2 separate regions of the Homo sapiens genome follow, and region 2 is linked to region 1. Evidence: promoter capture Hi-C in 16 types of primary human blood cells and fetal thymus (Javierre and others, 2016). All regions are on one chromosome and are shown on one strand. The core of a region is centred on a gene start or on the middle of the fragment in contact, and the rest is flanking DNA. Distances in the headings are between cores, read along the strand shown. Region 1 holds the start of MXD4 (MAX dimerization protein 4). Region 2 overlaps CFAP99 (cilia and flagella associated protein 99).

What was found. Contacts are between HindIII fragments. The CHiCAGO score rates a contact against its expected background, and 5 or more counts as called.
Region 2: a fragment that was not itself captured here is called in contact with the fragment with the promoter of MXD4 in region 1 in 2 of 17 cell types (endothelial precursors and M1 macrophages); the score reaches 5.3 in endothelial precursors.

What each region holds. Positions count from the first base shown.
Region 1 is chr4:2,257,864-2,264,622 of GRCh38, reverse strand. MXD4 (MAX dimerization protein 4) reads left to right here and starts at 2,514. Exons shown (of 6, transcript NM_006454.3): 1 at 2,514-2,706; 2 at 2,799-2,898; 3 at 6,612-6,641. The coding sequence starts at 2,643. RefSeq lists enhancers at 842-1,501, 1,502-2,163, 3,395-3,987 and silencers at 1,795-2,634, 2,685-2,744, 2,835-3,224, 3,235-3,294. The HindIII fragment of the contact is 4,464 bases long and covers 1,007-5,470 here.
Region 2 is chr4:2,446,797-2,454,353 of GRCh38, reverse strand. It overlaps CFAP99 (cilia and flagella associated protein 99), which reads right to left. Exons shown (of 16, transcript NM_001193282.4): 7 at 4,604-4,684; 8 at 4,349-4,420; 9 at 3,336-3,407; 10 at 3,002-3,090; 11 at 2,008-2,212. Among named protein-coding and RNA genes, the nearest start is that of RNF4, 19 kb to the left of the region's middle. The HindIII fragment of the contact is 1,576 bases long and covers 515-2,090 here.

The sequences.
Region 1 (6,759 bases), core at 1,265-3,764:
CAGGCCTCTCCTGGCTGCTCCCTCCCCTTCCCTCTCCTCCTGCCATTGCTGGCCGATGCCTCCAGTACCTCCCTCCCTAGCTGCAGCTCAGCCCTCAGTCATCCATCGCCTCCTGCAGCTTCTCCTCCCAACCCCAACTCCTTCCTGCTCCCCCAGGCAGTGGTGCCCACACTACCAGGCAAGGTTTGAGCCCAGGGACACCAGGGAAGTGCTTGGTCCTCAGTGTGGTGGGGAGGTGAGGGTGAGTCCTTAAATGGCCTAAATTGAGGCTAAAAATCTCTTAGACTGGGGTAGCATGCAGGTGCCTCCCCATAGACACACCTGCGCACCTGTGCTGCCCACTGCCACACAGAACAAATCTCTTGGCCCATGGCAGGAAGGGGGCGTGCACTATGCCCAGCAGGTGCACTTGTACTAGGCCAGGTGTCCGCTTTAGCTGTCGGCAGCAACTCACCCAGTGGCCAAAGCAGGGATGGGGCAACTTTGCAAAATGCTCATCCCCAAGTGGAGAGCTGGGTCCCCAGAGCCCAAACACACCCTGCTCCTCCCCAGACTTGGGCACCTTTCTTTACCATGCACAGCTCTGAGCAGCCATGCAGACAAACCTGGAGGGCCTCAGTGCTGAGTTCTTGTGAGGGGCTCTGCCTTGGGCCCTGGCGTCACTGTGGGGCGGGAACAGGAAGGGCCCCTGCTAACATCAAGGGGGTTGTCTCAATGTCCATGCAGGGCTGTCTCATAGCAGTGTCCGAGTTCCCCACTGGGTCCTGCAGGGCTCTGTGGGAACACACATTATTCTGAAGCCCACACCACAGGCTTACACCCAGCAGGACCAGCCAGGCCAGGAGGCTCTGGCCTCTGCATTCCTATAGCCCTGAGCCGTGTGTGGCAGCACTAATCTCCATTCTGCTGAGATTTCTGGGAGACCCCAGCAAATCCCTGAGCGTCTAGTCCCATGTCCTGATCTGCAAGCCGGGCATGCAAAACACAGGGAGATGCACACGAAGCTTTCACAGGAGTCCTGGTGCTGAGGTTTTGCATTTTTTGTTCAGTTTCATTGCCAGCAGCAGCCCCTGTGTCCCACTGAGTACTTCTGGAGGGGTCCAGCCACCTTATGCCTCCACACTCTCCAGCCTGCGGGGCCTGGCCCTTGGCACATCCAGGCCACCAACCTCAAAAATCAAATCAGTGAGATGGGTCGGGCGAGGTGGCTCACACCTGTAATCCCAGAACTTTGGGAGGCCGAGGCGGGCGGATCACGAGGTCAGGAGATCCAGACCATCCATGGTGAAACCCCATCTCTACTAAAAATACAAAAATTAGCTGGGCGTGGTGGCACGCGCCTGTAGTCCCAGCTACTTGGGAGGCTGAGGCAGGGGAATCGCTTGAACCCGGGAGGCGGAGGTTGCAGTGAACTGACATCACGCCACTGCATTCCAGCCTGGGCAACAGAGCCGTCTCAAAAAAAAAAAAAAAAAAAATCTGCGAGAGGGTGGGGGGTGCCGAGGCCAGTCTGGGCCAGCCTTAGGGTCAGGGGTCACTAGGGAGACCCGCCAGCTGGGATTTGATGAAGGGTTCACTCCCGTCCCCACTTAGGGCGTCCTCGGCCAGAGGTGGCCAGCGCCTGCCTCTAGGAACGTCCCTGCCCCTCAGGCCAGACACAGAGCATGCAGCCCCCCACTCCGGGGAGCCTCTCGACTCTGGCCGCACGTCTGTGTCCCTTCCCCAGACCTGGGCCCTCCCTCAGCTCCGGCGTCCACTGGGCGATCTGAGGAGCCCGCCCGCTCTGGGCCTGTTTCCCCACTGACACCCTCAGAGACGCCTGGCTCTTAGGATCAGAGCGTCTGCGTCCCTCTCCGAGGTCCCGGCCCTTCCCGGGGCCACTCTGCGCCCGGCGGGGAGGGGAGTCGTTCACGGCCCCACGCAAGACCCCCGGGCAGAGCGCGAGGCCTCGTCCCCCCACGCAGCCACTGCTTTCGTCGCGCTCAGACCCGGCGGCCCGGCCCGGCCCGGCGCACGCCCCGGAGCGCCCTGCTTCGCTCTCGTAGCGGAGACGCTCCTGCGTCCTAACGGGCCCCCAGGACGGCGGGCGGTCCCCGCGCGCTGCGCTTCCTCTCGGCAACGCGTCCGGCTGCGGCGCCCTCATTGGCCGCGCGCCCCGCCACCGGCCATTGGCTCGCAGTGCCTGTTTTACATAGGCCGCTCTGGCCAATCGGCGCGCGGCGCCTACTTAACATGCACGGCGGCCGCCAGTCAGCTAGCGCGGGGGCCGGGCCACCACGTGCTGTTGCTAAGCTCGGGCTTCTAAATTGTTACTAGCGCGGCCGGCCTATCCCAGCCCAGCTCTGCATCTGTCAACATTCTCGGCCCGGCCCGAGGCGCTCGACCCGTCCCCATTGGCCCCAGCCCGGCCCGGCGCCCGCCCCCGGGGCGCGAACGCCGCCTCCCATTGGCTCTGCGGGCCGCCGCTCTCCCTTATGTGTCAATTTGAGGGCCTGAGGCGGAGGGTGGCGGCCGAGCGCCGGAGTCCGCGGAGTCTGGAAGTGCGGCGGCCGGGCGCGCGGGGTGGGCGGCGAGCGGAGCCGGCCGGAGCGGGCCGGGCAGCGGCCGCCGCCGTCCCGGGGCGGACGGGCGCGGGCGGGAGGATGGAGCTGAACTCCCTGCTGATCCTGCTGGAGGCGGCCGAGTACCTGGAGCGCAGGGATCGAGGTAGCGCTCGCACCCCATTGTGCGCCCGCGGCGGTGGGCGGGCGGCGGGGCCGTGCCGGGCGGGGGCCGCTGACCGCGCCGTGTGTCCGCAGAGGCCGAGCACGGCTACGCCTCGGTGCTGCCCTTCGACGGCGACTTCGCCAGGGAGAAAACAAAGGCGGCCGGCCTGGTGCGCAAGGCCCCGAACAACAGGTACCGCCCCCCGCTCCCGACCCCGCCCGGCCCGGTCCGAACCCCCGCCCCCGCCCGGAGCGTGCTCTCCGGGCCCCGATTCCCGGCCCGCGGCCCTCAGCGCCGCCGCCGCGCGCCCCGGCGGCCAGCCTGGAGGAGGAGGCGCGCAGGCCGCGGCCGCAGCCCCGCCCGGCCGGCCCCGCCCTCGCCGTCGCCATCTTCCCGCGGCCGCGCCTCCCGGGCCGCTCGCGTAAACAGTGCCACGCGTACAGCGCCCGCCGCCGGGGTCCGCTCCCGCGCCCGCTCCCCGCCCCCGAGTTGTTCTGGACTTTTCCAGGCGGTAGAAAAGTTGTCAGCGGGCGCTGGCCGGTGCCCCGTGGGTCTGGGGAAACAGGCTCAGCCAGGGTCTGCGGGGGCTGCCGGCCCTAACCCCTTCTCTCCGCGGGTGGGTGGGCGGCCTCCTTTCGACTGGCTCTGCCAGCCGAACTCTGCTGCTCGGCCACCTTCCCCCGCCCCCAGGAGCCTAGACAGAGAAGCGAGTGGAGGCGCTGTCCTGGGCCCTCACTCCTCCCAGGGTGCCCACCGCTTCTGCCCAGCCTCCTGACACAGCGAAACTCCAGCCACCAGTATGGGGGTCCTCTTTTTTAAGACAGAGGCCTTTTAAGGGGGCGGGAGGAGGGGGCAGGCTGCAGGGCAGGGGCCCCATGAAGTCGTTACTACGGGTGCCAGCTGCGCCCTCCATACCTTGACCTCGTGTTCAGGCAGCAGAAGCCCTGAAGCTGGGGTGCGTACAGGTCCCCCGCGTGGGGAGTGGGGACCCTGGGCCGGGGCTCCCCGGGGATTTCCACCCTCCTGGCTGCTGTGAGGACCATAGCACACCTGGTCCTGTCTGGGCCCACCTTGGCCCAGCCCTTTTGTGTGAGCAGGCTGGGAGCTGCGTTTGTAGGGGGCTTCAGAGCCCCAGGGCATGGCTCATTCCTGTGGTCCACCTGTTCTAGGGAATCCGAAAGGCTGGTGTAGGGACCCATTTCTGTGGCATCCTGAGCCAGGCGAGGAATTGGTTGAGTCTCCAGCTGCCCTGGCTGGGACCCGTCCCTGAGTCCCAGCCCCTGGTCCCCTACTGGGGACAGTTTGGGGAAGGACAGGAGTGTGACGAGGGAACCATTGCCTCAGGCCTCCTCAGTGAGCAAGCCCGGCCCCCGCTGCCGCTTCTCTCCAAACCAAGTCCCTGACCCGTGGAGAACTCTGGGGCGTGAGCTGGGGCTCCCCCAGCATGGAGAATCCAAAGCTGACAACCAGCGTCCTGGCCAAGGCTGCCCGAACACTGCCTCTATGCTGAGCGTTTCACACATGCAGCCAGTTCATCTTCACCCCAGGCTCAGAGAGGTGATGTGATTTTTATCTCTATGGCCAAGGAAACTGAGGCAAGGAGAGGTTTGGTTACTTGCCTGCCACTCACCCATCTCTGATGACGCCTGTTCCTGAGATGGGGTCCCAGCTGTCCACATTCTGCTGGGACAGAGACCATGGGGGCACTGGTGAGGGAGACAGAGGGCTCCCCAACTCTGGTGCATCTCCCCTGGCTCCTCTGGGCCGAGCCCCGCTCCCCCGGGGCCTGAGGCAGCCCAGGGCTGGCGGCTTGGCCCCTTCCTCGGGTGGGCAGCACTGCCCTGGAGGTTTCCTCAGCCAGCCCAGACAAGTAGCTGGGCGGAGCAGGGGGCCAGAGGATCTCTGAGCCCCTGACTTGTCCCCACCTGTGAGGCTTCCATGCTCTGCCAAGGTGAGGGAGGGGACATGGCACAGTGAGGCTGGGGCAAGGGTAGGGAGTGGGGCCGGAGGACAGTGTCAGGGTTGAGGGAGGCGGCAGAGCACTGGGGCCAGCCTGCAGGGGGGTCCATTCTGTGGGAAGTGTGCTTGTCTCCTGGGGTCACGGGAATGCTGGGAACGCACTTGGCCTGGCCTCAGCGGGGACAGGTCCCACCTCTCCTGAGGGATAGAGTGCTCCTGGGACCCATGTTGCAAACATCCCCCTCGATGGACCCCAAGGGTCTCTGGGCCCAGGAGGAGCTGCAAGAGGGGCCCTGGCTGCTGGAGGAGGGCCCCCTGCCTCCAGGGTGGGGTCCAGCCCCGTGCCACCCTTCAAGGGGTAGGCAGGTAGGCTTTTATGTTGAAGGGCACCTGCTGACCCCGACCTCCCTCTTGACTACAGACCCACGTGGCCAGGCTGCAGTTTGGGCTGAGGACAGAGAGTACGGCTCATTCCTGCGGCCTGCCTATTCTGGGGAAGCAGAAACGCTGGCGTAGGGGCCTATCTCTGTGAGGCCAGTGAGGAGCATATGGCTGTGGCCTCTGCTGGCCCTGGTCGGCCCTGGCTGGCCCTGGCAGTGATTCGGAGGCTCCTTGTCCAGCCCATGTGACCAACAGGCCCTCCCGGACCCTGAGACCTGGGTCTGGAGGCTCTGCTGAGGCTACACAAGGAGGCCCAGGGCCTGTTGGTGCAGCGGGTGGGAGGGGCAGGCCCTTGGCCTGAGTGGTTGGGACAGGAGACGCCAGATCCCAAGTTCCTGAAGCAGGCAGTGGTCAGCAAGAAGCTTCAGGAAGGAGCCAGGTCCTGAGGGCAGGGAGAGGCCTCAGGGCTGGGTCTGGAGGTGCCCCGAGGCAGTCTGAGCTCTCTGCCCACCTGTGCAGCGGCATCCTGGGAGGCCCGGGAGCCCTGGCTGGCCTGTGGGGTCCTGCCTGGACACGGAAGGTGGCCTGGAGCTGGGAGCGAGGTCCCCCTGCCTCGTTATCCTCCAGGCAGATGCTGTGGCACACCCTGTGGTGCTGGGAATTGTGTGCCCGCGTCTGAATGGGCAAGACAGGTGAGCAGCAGGTGGGGCCACTGTCCCCAGAGAAGCTGAGCCCGGGCCTCCAGGGCAGCCCATCCTGCTAGCACAGCCCCTGAGGGAAGTGGGAGGGCTGGCCTCAGTGTCCCCCTGTGCCTACTGGCCTGGGAAGCATCCACATCTCAGAAGCCCCCTCATGGGCTGACCTGGCTGACGCTGCTGTGTCCCTGGTCCCCATTGGTAAGGTGGGCTGTGGTCACGCAGGTGTGTGAGCCCGAGAGAGTGGTGGTGTCAGGACAGGACCACCTGTGTCCTGAGGGCCTGGTCTCTGGGCTCCATCTCCACCTGCTGTTTGTCCCGGGTGCTAGGCTGCTTTGGCTCCAAGGACACAGCTGGCCTCAGGGATTGGGGAGCAGGGAAGGCAGGTGGCTGGTGGGGGTCAGCGCCAGGACCTGTTGCTGCTCCCTGGGCCTCCCCCATCCCTCTGGAAGGGGGCCTAGGTCCTCCTGTCAGCCAGATTCACCACGGGCCTTGCTAGGTGGGCTGGTGGCCCTGGGCGCCCTGGACCTGCCTGCAGCTCTGGGCCTCCCTGTAAGCAAGGCTGGCCCCTGCTGCTGCTTCTCACCAAACCAAGTCCCTGACCCATGGAGAACTCCAGGGCGTGAGCTGCGGCTCCCCCGGCACGGAGTACCCAAAGCTGACAACCAGCGCCCACCCTTAGCATGTGGTTCCCCCCACCCTGGGTGGGCAACTGCTCACCTGCCCCAGGCCTCACTGCTCTGGGCCATTCCAGGACCCAGACACAGCCAGCCACTGTCTGCAGGTCCTGGCCCCCTAGGAGAGCACTGCTCTCTGTGCCCTGGTGGGCAGGCAGAAGAGTGAGCTCTGTCTTTCTGTCTTTCTAAACAGGTCTTCACACAACGAGCTAGAAAAGCACAGGTAAGTGACCCCCCAGTTCCCCACATGAGCCCGACACCTGGCCCACCCTTTTACTGAGGGTGTGTGGTGCGTTGAGCCTGCCCCTGTCCCGGGCACGGCCAGCCGTGCTGCCAGGCTG
Region 2 (7,557 bases), core at 53-2,552, 190 kb before region 1:
ACCAGCCTGGCCAACACAGTGAAAACCCATCTCTACTAAAAATACAAAAAGTAGGCCGGGCACGGTGGCTCATGCCTGTAATCCCAGCAATTTGGGAGGCCGAGGTGGGTGGATCACGAGGCCAGGAGTTCAAGACCAGCTTGACCAAGATGGTGAAACCTCATCTCTACTACAAATACAAAAAAAGAAATAGCTGGGCATTGTGGCATGCGCCTATAATACCAGCTATTCAGGAGGCTGAGGCAGAGAATTTCTTAAACCCAGGAGGTGGAGGTTGCAGTGAGCCATGATCATGCCACTGCACTCCAGCCCGGGCGACAGAGCAAGACTCTGTCTCAAAAAGAAAAAAAAACCAAAAACCAAAAAACAAAAATTAGCCATGCATGGTGGTGCTCGCCTGTAGTCCCAGCTACTCAGGAGACTGAGGCAGGAGAATCACTTGAACCCGGGAGGCGGAAGTTGCAGTGAGCTGAGATCACACCACCGCACTCCAGCCTGGGCGACAGAGCAAGCTTCCATCTTAAAAAAAAAAAAAAATCATGTTATATATCACAAATATATTCAATTGCATTTGTCAAGTTAAATAAATAAAGAACCAAAAAAAAAAAAAAAGTCAGGGAAATGAAGGTCAAAAGTGCAATAGAAAATGGACAAAAGACATGGACAGACGGTTCACAGAAATAGACACAAATCATTTATATATGTATATGTGGACATTTGCTCAAATTCACTGATAAATAAATGAGATGCAAATCAGAACTATACCAAGATACTATTTCTGACCCATGAAATTGGCACAAATTCACGAATTCAGCCTGGTACACTCTGTGGCGGGGCATGCGGATCAGACCCCTCTCACACTTTGGTGGAGTGAAGATGGTAAAAGTACCAGGGAGACGATTGGCCATATTTAGTAAAACCACGCGTCCCAAACGGCAAGGACTCCTGCGTATCCAGTTACTCTTTGGTGTGACATCTGGAAATATAACTTCCTCTAGAAGTTTACCCTGAAAATCCAGCTCTGCAAAGGTGAAAGTCTTGCACATTATTCTTTGCAGATAAAGCAAGGTGTGACCTTTTATGTAACAAAAAAGGGAAGGACAAACTATGTATATACAAGTGTGTTATTTGCTTCGAAAGACGGGAAAGGTAATCCAGAAATTAATGAAAGGAAGGACCAACAAAGGAAGGTGGAAATGGGTTGTAAGTTATAGACTTACAAGAGGTGAGACTTCTCTGAGTCTACCTTTTCATATTGTTTAGACTTCATTTTTGTTTGTTTGTTTTGTTTTTGAGACAGTTACGCTCTGTCGCCCAGGATGGAGTGCAGTGGCATGATCACGGCTCACTGCAACCTTGACCTTCCAGGCTCACGTGATCCTCCTACCTCAGCCTCCCGAGTAGGTGGCACTACGGGCACGCACCACCATGCCCGGCTAATTTTTGTATTTTTTACAGAGACGGGATTTTGCTATGTTGCTCAGGCTGATCTTGAACTCCTAGGCTCAAGTGATCTTCTGGCCTTGGCCTCCTAAAGTGCTGGGATTATAGGTGTGAGCCACCATGCCTGGCCTGGCCTTCATATTTTTTTAAAAAAGTAAAAAGGAAAGAAAAGGCAAACCTTAAAATTGAATACAGACACAGATGAAACTATCAAAAGAAGCAATCTGAGTGACCTTTGATCAAGTCCCTGACCGCAGGCCTGCAAAGGGATACGTCCCAGGAGAGAGTATACAGGCCGGCCTCCTGGGGCTGAGGCTCCCCGCTGGTCCAGGCCACTGTGAGGCCCACTGGAAGGAGCAGGCACTCTCGGGGAACACAGGCTGAGCGTGCCCACCTAGGCAGTGTGTCCTTCGAGGAGGAAGAGGAGCCAGGACCAACACATCAGTAGCTTCTACGGGGGCGCTGTGGACACTCAGCTCCACTGCCAGCCCTGGCCCTGCAGCTCCCGGTGGGCACACAGTTCAGCTGGCTGCCCCATGCCCAGCTGCCCTGCATGGCACCCACCTGCTCCTTCTGCTGCTCCACCCTCTGCTTGTTCTCCTGCATGAGGCTCTGCCGGGCTAGGACGGCCTCCTCATGGCTAAGCTTCCCTTGCAACCGCCGGCACTCGCTTGCAGCCAGCTGCTCCTCCCGGTCCTTCGCCTGCATCTTCTTCTGCCACTCGAAGAACTCAGAGAAGTCCCCAGCCCCATCCACGAGCTTATCAACCCTGGGCAAAGAGGGACAGAAGCACAGCTTGGGGTTTCTCCCGTGACAGAGGCTGCTGGGTGGTCACAGGTTTTCCTGAGGGACAGTGGCTGCGCAGGCGTGGGCTGCTACTCCTGACACCCAGCTGCGTGGCCTGCCCTTCCTCCTATCCCCGACCCACTGTCCACCCATCCCCTGGTCCCCCTTTCTGTGCGTCCACCCATCAGCCCCATCCACCCACCCCTCCCTTCATCCACTTGTTTGTCTACCCTCACTCTGTCCAACTGTCTGTCCATCCACCAACCCTGTGTCCATCATCTGTCCATCCATCAACCTTCTGTCCTCTGCTAGCCTGGCCACCCTTGCCCCTGTGCACCATCTGTGCGTCCACTCCACCATCTGGTCAGACACCCATGCTCCCCCCACAGCCTGACTTGCAGACAAGGAAAGACACGACCACACCGCATGGGGTAAGCACAGGGGTTTGCAGCCCTGGTGGTCTAGGAGATGGGGGCATCAGGAAGGGGTCCAGGGAGGAGGTAACCCCAAGGGAGGTTTGGTGTGGGTTGGGCCTTTGCTAAGTCCCTCCAGCCCCATTCATGCCCCTCACTGAGCCGGCATGATCTTTGTAAGATGCACCTGGGACCCTGACACAGTCCTGCTTGTCGCCCCTGTTGCTGCAGGACCACAGCCTGTTGTGACCCCCGAGTCCCTCTCCACTGAGCTGCCCAGCCCCCAGGCCCCTCCTCTGAGCCTTTCCTCTCAAGGGTGATGCCGTGGAAGGCAGGTGGGGGGGCCTGCCGCCCTTCACCTCTGCAGCTCCTGCTCCACCTGCCGCTGGTACAAGGCCCCTTCTCGCAGGATGGCTGTGGTGTTCAGCTTGACCAGGATGTTGTCAGGCTGCGGGATTGGGGACTGGCTGTGGTGGGGGCTTGAGGAGACCCTTGGGAGCAGCAAATGCCCATCCTGCCCTCATGCCCGTCACACCTGCCCCCTGCCCAGGTGCTTCCCTATCCCCCAGGGTGGGGCCGTCCTTGGGACTCTAGGTCCCCCAGCTCAGGTCATCTGAGCCTCTACGGGCAGAAAAGGTCTGGAGGGGTGGGTGCCCAGGGAGAGCAGCCTGACCATCCAGGAGCACCCCTCACCCTATAGAAGGTCAGCTTCGGAGTCTTTCGGATTCGGGGTGGGAACTGAAGCCGCAGCTGCTGCTTGGAGCCCTGCAGGAGTCAGGGCAGAGCTGGCCGCCTGGCACCTGTGCCTGCTGGGTGCCCCCAAACACATACCAGGTGGATGCTGGCCCAGCACCCTGGGGAGGCCTGGCTCACCCCTCTTCATCCTCCCCCCAGCTGCCCATCCCTACCACCACGCCAGGTCAGGGTCTCTATCTTCCAATGCCCCCCAAGCCTTGCTGTGGTTCCACCCAGGCTGGAACAGGGAGGGTGCAGGGCCTGTGGGCCTGGGAACAGTGCTTCCCAGTCAGGACAACTTGGCCTCAGGGCTCAGTGGCCCTCTCCTCAGCCACCCCCAGAGCTGGGGTCTGGCTGGCCCCCATGGCCTCTCCCCGAGCCTGTCTGCTCCCGGCCCAGCCGCCAGCTGCTTTGCCAACACATCCCAGGGTGGGCACCGCAAGCTGCAGTGAGGGGAGTGGCTGCAAAGGCCACCCCTCTGAGCACTCGGTCATTGCAGCCCCGCGGCATGCACCATATGGGCTGCCCAGCCCGGGCCTGCCCTCATGGTGGGACCCTTGCCACCCAGCGGGGCCGTGCTCCTGAGTGAGCCCCGCCAGGCACAGTCTCTCCTGTCGTCATTACCTTGCTTTTTCTTTATTGGCAAACATACCTGGGTTTGTTTTTTCCTTACAGAGACATGAAATGCTTGTCACGGAACATCTGGAGATACCCAGAGGCAGCACCTGCAGGTGCTTTCCCGTGAGCTTCCTCCTGGGGGATGTGGGTGCGCGTCTACACCCGCCTGCTTAGGGGCCACATCGCAGTGGGCTCAAGGCACACTTTCCCAGTGCTACTGGGAATCCGCCCCTCCCCGGCCCTCAGTGGGAAAAGGCTACATAAGTGGTCACTGCGATGGCGTTGGGAGGAACTTTCTGATGGCTTGAGAAGATGGCACCTCGATGATGGGTCTTGAGAGAGCTGGGCGGTACCTGCACTCGCTCCCTGCAGGACCTGGGCATGGCGCAGCGCAGTTCCTCGATGTTTGCCCTCAGCAGCAGCTCCTGCCACAGTGACACAGCGGCTCCAGTCCCACCAGCCTCTGCCCAGTGTCCTCCAGGCCATGGGAGGACGAACTTCCACCCAGCCTCCCCCTCTTGCCTCCTCTTCCCTCTCCCCACCCCACCTTCCCTTCACACATCCCTCATATGGGGTCTCTAGGAAGGCAGGGGTCGCACACAGCTCACCTCGGCCTTTCGGCGGTTGTACCTCTTGACTGTCTCCAGCTGCTGCTGCTCCTTGGGTGGCTGGTAGGTGCTCTGGGGGACCTGCTGAAGTGGTGGGAGGAAGAGCCTATGGTCAGCAGCTGCGAGTGGGAGGGGGCCTAGAAATGCCAGGGCTGACAGCTTGGTGGATGTGGGTGAAGGGGAGGGTGGTGGCGGCCTGCATTGGAGGAGAAACAGGGCTGGAGCTAACACCACCGGGTGCTGGTGGGTCAGCGTTGGCAGTAAAGGGAAGGAGGTCAGGCTGGTCATTGGCGTGGGGTCTGGAGCTTGGCCTGGGATGGGGTGGGTGGGGTAAGACATGAGCCGGCAGTACTGAGGGCGTACCATCGGCCAGCATGGGATGGCCAGGGTGGGTAGGAGCAAGAGGGGGAGGCAGCCAGCTCCCTTGACACTGGGAGACAGGCGGAAGATGGCTGCCTGGGCAGGAGAGGCTGGGAGAATATCACGGACCCCTGCAAAGTAAGCTGTCGGGAGGGGACACTGCAGAGGCCAGGGCGGCTGCACCATATCCCCGAGTCCAGTCACAGGAGGCTCCGATAATATGGCCGGAGCTGTGTCCATGAAGGAGCAGGAGGGGGCCGGCCTAGATATCCCTGAGCTCCAGACTGCTGTATTACCCTCCTAACTCCATGCCTTCTCCCCTGCACATCTAACAGTCATGGAAAATCAACTCGTCCAAACCTCAAACCCTCATCTTCCTCAAACGAGCCCTCCCTCAGCCTCACTGACCACGACCGCTGTCCATTCCTCACCCATGCCTCAGAGTCCTCCTTGTCACCTCTGTCTCTCACACCCACATCCATCTCCTGCCCACCTGCTTCAAGCCATCTCCAGGAACTGCCTCTCACTGCCCTCCTTGGCCACGGCAGCTGGAGGGACCCTGTGTTGGCGCCAGCCTGCCTCAATGTGTCCTGTCTCTGCTCCCTCCAGTGGATGTGTGACCAGACCGGTACCCCGCCTTCCCTCTTCCCTGCCTCACTCCACTCCAGCCCCTCCTGGCCACCCTCAAACACTTGAGGGAGGGTGGGCACTGCCCCAGGGCCTTTGCCTGCACCTTGCTCCTGCCCAGGATGCTGTTCTCTGAGACACCCCATGGCCGACTTGCTCACTTCTGGTTTTTTACTCCATGGCATTTCTCGGGAGGCCTTTCTAGGCCACACAATCCAGAATCACAACCGCTCCAACACGTCTTATCTCCTTTGTCTGAGATAATGAATGAGTGAATTACAGTGGGCCCTCAACCCTGAAGCAGAAGGATGTCTTAGGCATGGGGCAGGGCAGGGAGGGTAGAGGATAGTTTCAGCACAGCCACCCTGTGGATGCAGAGAAGGTACATGTCCACAAACATCTCACAGATTGTACTGAGAGGCACACAGCTATAGAGCATGGGAGGACATGGTGAGGGCCCAGGCAGGGGCTGTGCTTGGCAGAGACAGAGAGAGAGATGAAGTTGGCAGCATGACCTGAGACAAACACACTGAGCCCTGAGGAGATGGGGTCAGAAATGCTGAAGATTATACAGATGGGGCAACTGTGGGGTTGCTCAGCAACAAGGTCTCTGATCATCCATCCATCAGCCACCTCCATCTAATCATCCATCCATCTGATCATCCACCCACTCACCCACCCATCCATCCATTTGTCTATCCATCTATCCATCCCTCTGATCATCCATCCATCCATCCATCCATTCATCCACTTATCCATCCATCTACTTATCCTTCCATGAAGCCATCCATCCATCCATCCATCCATCCATCCATCCATCCATCCATCCATCCACCCATCCATTCATTCACCCACTCATTCATCTACTCACCCATGTCATCATCCATCTATCTATCCATAATCTAATCATCCATCCATCCATCCATCCATCCACCCACCCACCCATCCATCCATTAATTCACCTACCCACTCATCTTTTCATCCATCTAATCACCCATTCATCCATTTGATCATCTATCCATCCATCTGATCATCCATTCACTCACCCACCCACCCATCCAACAATTTAATCATCCATCCAATCATCCAATCCGTCCATCCATCCATCCATCCATCCACCCACCCATCCATTCATTCACCCACTCATTCATCTACTCACCCATGTGTTCATCCATTCATCCATCCATAAACTCATCTCATCATCCATCCACCCATCTGTTCATCCATCTATCCATCTATCCATTAATCCATCCATCTACCCACCCATCCATTCATTCACTTACCCATCCCTCTACTCATCCATTCATCCATTTGATCATCTATCCATCCAACTGATCACCCATTCACTCACCCACCCACCATCCTACCATTTGATCATCTATCCAATCATCCAATCATCCATCCATCCACCCATCCACCCATCCACTTATCCTTCCATGCATGTATCCATCCATCCATTCATTCACTTATCCTTCCATGTGTCCATCCATCCATCCATCCATCCAGTCATCCATCTATCCATCCACTTATCCTTCCATGCCTCCATCTATCTACCAACTCATTCATTCATTCACTCACCCATCCATCTACTCACCCATCTGCTCATCCATCTACCCATCTGATCATCTATCCATCCATCCATTCACCATCTATCATCCATCCATCCATCCACCCACCCATCCTTCCGACTATCCATCTATCCATCAACTTATCCTTCCATGAGTCCAACCATCCATCCATCTACCCATCCATCCATTCATTCGCCCACCCATCCATCTACTCATTCATCCATCCACCTGATCATCTCTTCATCCATTTGACATCCATCCACCCACTTACCCACATACCCATCCATTCATTTGATCATTCATCCACCCATTCATTCCTCCATCCAATCATCCATCTATCCATTCACCAATCCAATCATCCATCCATCCATCCATCCATTCATCCACCCATCCATCTAC